Regions from separate parts of the Homo sapiens genome. Here region 1 is linked to region 2. Evidence: promoter capture Hi-C in 16 types of primary human blood cells and fetal thymus (Javierre and others, 2016). All regions are on one chromosome and are shown on one strand. Each heading gives the region's core, a stretch centred on a gene start or on the middle of the fragment in contact. The rest is flanking DNA. Distances are from core to core; before and after follow the strand shown. Region 1 overlaps FBXO33 (F-box protein 33). Region 2 holds the start of MBIP (MAP3K12 binding inhibitory protein 1).

The links. Contacts are between HindIII fragments. The CHiCAGO score rates a contact against its expected background, and 5 or more counts as called.
Region 1: a contact is called between a fragment that was not itself captured here and the fragment with the promoter of MBIP in region 2, in 1 of 17 cell types (total CD4 T cells). The highest score is 6.0, in total CD4 T cells.

Annotation. Positions count from the first base shown.
Region 1 is chr14:39,425,577-39,428,928 of GRCh38, forward strand. The region is part of intron 1 of FBXO33 (F-box protein 33); the gene reads right to left. Among named protein-coding and RNA genes, the nearest start is that of FBXO33, 5.2 kb to the right of the region's middle. The HindIII fragment of the contact is 2,172 bases long and covers 817-2,988 here.
Region 2 is chr14:36,318,981-36,322,307 of GRCh38, forward strand. MBIP (MAP3K12 binding inhibitory protein 1) reads right to left here and starts at 1,657. Exons shown (of 9, transcript NM_016586.3): 1 at 1,480-1,657. The coding sequence starts at 1,608. RefSeq lists enhancers at 1,346-1,605, 2,006-2,055. The HindIII fragment of the contact is 840 bases long and covers 1,183-2,022 here.

The sequences.
Region 1 (3,352 bases), core at 653-3,152, 3.1 Mb after region 2:
CTATTCTTCTTAGTCCACTTTCAGTATCATGTTTTAACATCCACATTATACTTTTTTAATAACATTATTTCCTTTCCTCAAAAATGCTAATGAACGGTCATAGCCAAATCAAACGAACACAAATAGTTTAGAGATGTGTTGTCCAGTAGTTTTCTTCTATGGATGGAAGTGTACTATTCTTTGTTGTACAATATAGCAGTCACTAGCCATATGTGACTATTGAGCGCTCGAAATGTGGCTAGTGGAACTAATGGGGTCTTTAATTTTATCTATTTAAAATTTAAATAGCTATCTGTAGCTACTGGCTGCCATATTTGACAGTACAACATTAGAACCCAGAAATAAATAACCGGCCTATAACAGTACTCCGTATTAGCTTTGGGACCCATTAACCAGAAGTTATTTCCCAGAACTTACAATTCCATCTAAGAATTACCATCCCCTAATCTAAGAATAACTACCATCCCCAAATCCCGAAGGTTACACACAAAAGGTGTATTTAAATAAAATGAACACTTGCGGTTGTTATTTAACATGCTATTTTTAAAAATTATTTATTTATTTATTTTTTATTTTATTTTTTCATATTTATTTTTTTAACATGCTATTAAAAGATAATTTTAACAATAATAAGGACAAGAAAATCGAGTGAGAAAGAAATGATGAAAAAATATTGTTTTTTCCTTTTGTCTTACTACCCACATCTAACTGGTGAGTACTCTGGGCTATACTTCCAAAATCCATCCACTTTTTTTCATCTCTCCTGCCTCCATCATAGTTCAAGCTACCATCATCTCTTGCTTAGAGTACAGTAAAAGCTTCCCAACTTGTCCCCCTACTTTCTCTCTTGGTCCCTAAGTCGCTCATAAAATGGCCAGGGTGATTGTCTTAAAATGCAAATGATATCACATTATTCTTGTCCTTAAAATTTTTTTCAGTGACTTCTTCTATCCTTGGAATATATTCCAAACTTCATTAAATAAGCCTACCTAACCCCAATTCTTCCTTCTTCTACTTCTCAGAACTCATCATGGCATCATTTTCATCCTCACTTGCCACAGCCCTGTCACACTTTCTTTTCCACTGCTCGAACAGACCAAAAATTTGTCTGGCTCAAGACCTTAGCGCTTACTGTTTCTTGTGTGTGGAATGCTATTTGCTCAGATCTTCAGATGGGCAACGCTTGTTATTCATGCTGCAGCTCAAATATCCTTCTCAAAAGAGGTTTCCCTGACACTTTACCTAATGTTGCCACCTAGTGACTATTACATCCTTCTGTTTTATTTTCAGATTTTATTTTCACAACCTGAAATAATCCTTCTTTCCTTTGTCTACTTGTTTCTGTCTTCCTTCCTCCTCTAGAATGACTCCGTGAGAACGGGAAGCATGTCTTCCCCGCCTGGCACATAGTACGCTCTCAATAATTGGAGGAAAAAACCCTAGATTTTCTATAACTATCATTTTAGCTCCTAAATAAATTGGTCAAGTTTGGTGAACTCTCCCAAGGCTGCCTCAGAACTAACAAATTAAAATGGAGATATTTAATCACTCCACTCAAAAGCTGCTTAACACCCTCATTTAACACAGTCAAAAAATTTTAACTTTTTTTTCCTTGAGTTTTACACCCTATTCCATCTATCAGTTGCCAATACAGCTGTGGAATAAAAAGTCCTAAAACCTCTCATAACAGCCTTCCAGGAGGTTAGTTTCTTTAGCTTTCCTTCTCAGTAACTTTGAGGCTATCCCTAAGGAGCCTCTTTTTCAGTTTTTAGGTAAGGAGCCTGCTGGGAATGCAGTGTCACAGGAAACTAATTCTTGAACAGGGCAGATTGGTCACAGGCCCAGTATATTTTAATATATTTATTCTGTAAATGGGCTTTTTAAAGTAAATAATAACAAAGTAAACTCTCAGAGATGAAACATTGTTAGACATATTTATTATACTACCACAGGAGAAATATTTCAAGAAAAATAAGGCTAAAAACTGTTGGAGATAATACCTTCAAGGCATTTTCTACCATCTTAGGTAGTAATCTGAAATGTCCAGGGAATTTTTAACCCATTTTAAAATGCATTTTTAGGCAGGGTGCAGGGGATCACACCTGTAATCCCAGCACCTTAGGAGGCAGAAATGGGAGAATCATATGAGGCCAGGTATTAGAGACCAGCCTGGGCAACACAGTGAGATCCTGTCTTTACACAAAATTAAAAAAATATATATATCAGCCAGGCATGGTGGTGCATGCCTGTAGTCCTAGCTACTAGGGAGGCTGGGGTGGGAGGATCATTTGAGCCCAGGAATTTGAGGCTGCAGTGAGCTATGATCATGATTGCTCCATCCTGAGTCACAGAGCAAGACTCTGTCTCAAAATATTTTTAAATGTCTTTATTATTGTTTCTTGGTAGGAAACAATACAAAGGTAAGATTCTCCTTCACTGTGCATGCCAAATCAACAAGACCCAAATCTAAGTATTATTAATAGATCCTTTTTAACTTACAGGATATATAAGCAGACACAGTCATGAAATGGTCAATCTACATACAAGCAGTTAGAGCTGTACCCAGAATCTTAAAAAGAAAATCAATCTTGTACAAAATTTCTCTGGTCTGTTACAATATGCATTCTTTTTTTTTAAATTTTTTTTTGAGACGGAGTCTGGCTCTGTCACCCAGGATGGAGTGCAGTAGCACGATCTCTATTCACTGCAACCTCTGCCTCCTGACTTCAAGCGATTCTACTGCCTCAGCCTCCTGAGTAGCTGGGATTACAGGCATGCACTGCCACACCCGGCTATGTATTTTAAAAGAGATGGGGTTTTGCCATATTGACCAGGCTGGTCTCGAACTCCTGACCTCAAGTGATCCACCCGTCTCGGCCTCCCAGAAAGTGCTGTCATTACAGGTGTGAGCCACCACCCCTGGCCAACGATATGAATTCTCAACAACAACAAAAAAGTACTGCCCCTAACAGCATTCCACCCAAGAAAAGCTTATGTAAAACATTTATACAGCCCATAGAAGCATAAACCAGATGAAGACAATGTGCCTATGGCTACTCTTCAGGTATTTTTAGTGACTGAGTCTATTACCTATTATCATAAATCTTACCATGAGCTCTCGTTTTTCCTAAGGAGTCTGAAATACAGCATTTTAATAGGCAGTACCCAACCTGACAACTGGATTAAATGCTAAAAATGCATTTATATCTATTTGTTGTTTGCACTTCTAGGTACAATTTCTTATAGAACGACTGCAGAGAAATTCAGCCTATGTGACCTAAAATACAGTTGAATGAGTACTTACTGCCCCTCTGTTCTTACTATTAATGAAGAAGACAGGTATCCTAGTGCC
Region 2 (3,327 bases), core at 407-2,906:
TTCACTGTGTCATGGTAAAGTAACCAAATATTTACTGTGAACATTTTTGACAGGTGACATAAGTAAATTGTAATCACTTCTTTACTTGTACAGTACTTGAATGTTTAAAATTTTCTAATGAGTTTGAAAAATTCAGTATGCAAAATATTTCAAAAGAAATGTTTAAATCATTGCTCAGTATTTTTTAAAAATATTCCATCTTCTGTTAACAGGTGAGAATAAACTTTTTTCATCTTGACATTATAAAATAAATAAACTTAAGTTCCAACGTCGCCATAAAAAGTTCTCTAACTTTTAAACCATTTAAACGTCTTGGGTCTTAAGAATGGAATGTTAATAACAAAACACCCCAAGTCTTTAAAAAATGTTTTTGGTAAGTACTTGGCAAACAACTGAATTTAAAAGTTATATCTTTAAGCAGACTCCATTAATAACTGCGTCATTTCATAAAACCGTTTAACTTACAGTAATGTTCTTTGTAAGACACAACATACTACGATTTTTAAAAATAGTAACTTCTTAAAAGACTGATTCTCCATCTACTCAAGGCTTTAAAAATAATTTTCACAAATCAGACAAATGTTCTATTTTCATAGGAATTTACCATTATCTTTGACACAAATGCCTGCTTTGTCCACTTGCGCTAGTACCAGCCCCAAAACAAACTTTTACGGCTAGAAAATGGTCTATGTAAGATAGAAAATATTTCCTTTTAAAAGGCAGGTAAACAAGCATACTTTTAAATTGTTTCTCATTTAAAACTTGAATTTTACACCATGAAACGAAACAGTGACTTGATCGAAGAAGCCCATTTCAATTTAAAACCAATTTTACTATGACATTTCTGCAAAAGCGATTTATCAGCCAGTTAAACTAGTTAATAGTTAAATAACGACAGTTCTAACGCCAACAGCATTTTACGCTAGAAGTATTTTAAATGAATTCCTTTTACTTTTCTCCCCATTTGAAAGGATTATAGATGCGCAAAACAGCCCGAAGGAAAAAAGAAATAAACAAAACCAAGTAACTCATAAGAACAAATTACTCCCTCCCCCACCAAAAAAAGCTAATAAGCGCGCGCTTTTCTATAAATCTCAGGCCTACTGACCAACCAATTCCCATAAAGAGTAAGTTGGAGGAAAAAGGACCCTGAACGCTAAGCGCCTCCTAAACTCGCAGTGAAGCTTTTCCACATTCATTCTCTCCAAGCCTGCCTCTCTCGGAGCCGGGTTTTCACTTAGGCCAACCTCACCCACTCTTGGGGAGGACAGCTGCAAGGTAAACGACTCTGCAACCGGTACCGCCGTCCTCCTCACTCCGACCGAGGAGGCTGGGCCCGGGCTCCTTCCACACCTCGGCTTCGGGACCGCATCCCACACCTCTGCAGGCCTAGCTGCCCCCGGCCTCTGCTAGAGAAAAAGAATGGCGAGGAGGGACCGGATGGTTTCCATATTCCCAGTCCCTCAGGCCACCTCTCACCTGTCCAACCAGGGTGTGTAGGGAGCGAAAGATTTCGTAGAGCACCTCTCGGGAGAGGTTGGGTCTGCATCTTCGCTCCAGGTTCCTGTCACCGCTGCTCGGGCGATTAAGCTCCGTGGCAGCAGCCATGATATCTTCTCAGGCCGCCCCACCACCACCACCACCAAGATTTGCTCACAACCCCGCCCCCTCCCTTCCAGCTTTAGTCGCTTGGCGATGACGTAAGACACGGAGTCTGGTTTAGATCGGGCTTTGAGGCCCCACCCTCTCTATGTGAATGACAAGCACGTTACACCAATCAGTTGCAGCTGTGACATTGCGCCGAGGCTCTGAAGTGGGTAATTGCAGACCACAGCTAGGCTGGAATGCTGTGTTTGGGGTGGTCATTAGAGTCGTGGTCTCTTTAGCGTTATGAAGCCTACCTTGACTCCTAGGTGTTCATTGTGAATCTTGGTAAGAGGAGACATAGTTAAATTTTGTAGTTTGAGTCCAAAAAGTAAAAGTTGACATTTTAACATGGCGGTGTGGAGTGGGTCTGGAGGAAGCTTGCTGGTCAGGGATGGAGTGGTGCCCACACGTGTTTCTAAACATTGGAAAACTCACACGGAATTATCATGATTGGATAGAACATTTTCATCTCTTCAAGTTTGTTGTTGTTGTTTTGGAGACAGAGTCTCACTCTGTCGCCCAGACTGGAGTGCAGTGGCACTACCTCGGCTCACTGCAACCTCCGCCTCCCAGGTTCAAGCGGTTCTCCTGCCTCAGCCTCCTGAGTAACTGGGACTACAGTTGATATTCTCTGTTTTAACTGTAGAGACGCTTAACCCTAAAATTGTTTCAAAGAAATGAAACACTGTCAATATAATTCCAACAGGAATTTAACCTGGATAAATAATATCATGCAACCACAATCTTTGAAATTAGGACATAAAACCGAATTCAAATTTTACAAAGTATTATTTATCATAATAGCTTTATTATAACGATGTTTGTGGGGTTTTGTAATCTTTTAGTCAGACTCCGATATTTTTAAAAAGTGTTATCCAATTAAAGTATTACAATAATTTTTAGTGTTAAGCTTTATTCAAAAACACTTTAAGAAATCAACATCAGCTTAGAGATAAGGAAGGTGGGATTTAAAACTCGTAATTCTGTTAATAGTCTAATGCATTTACAGTAGAGAAAGCAAAGGTGGAAACTTGCACAATGTGTATTCTTTAGTTTTAGGGTAGACTAAATTAAAGGGAAGGACTAATGCATCAAGGAACTAAGATAAGGACGATGGGGATAAAAACTCCTTTGACCTGTCCCTAGGGAGTCTCTTAATTAGGCTTTCATTTCCAAAGACAAATGGGATCACCAGGCTTGACAGAATCTTGGGAAATCTTTTCTGTTCCCTTGTTGGCAGCAAGATATACAACTGACATTCCAGCCTATTTCTACAGGCAGAAAAATACTTCACAATGTCCAGTCTCAAATTGAGCAACCTTCTTATTCAAGCATGGTAATGGGGTAACTGTAAGTTTTTGTTTTGTACCAAATTAGCAATCAGTTTCAGATCATTTGTTTTCATTGAGGTGTTTCATATTTTTTCAAATATGGAGAACACTGATATGCAACACATTTGGGAATATGCTTTGTATATTTAAAAAATGTTGTCTTTAACAAGGTGCTGCTATTCCTTTCTTTGCCATCATTGATTTTGAATTTTCAAGTTTTACTTGTTCTTTTGAGCCTCTAATACAGAATTAACTGATGGCCATTTGATCTGTGTATTGCTTCTCCATGTAATTCTGTGATTTGATATCCAGACCTGCACTTGTATCTTAGTATTCTTTACTTAGGTAC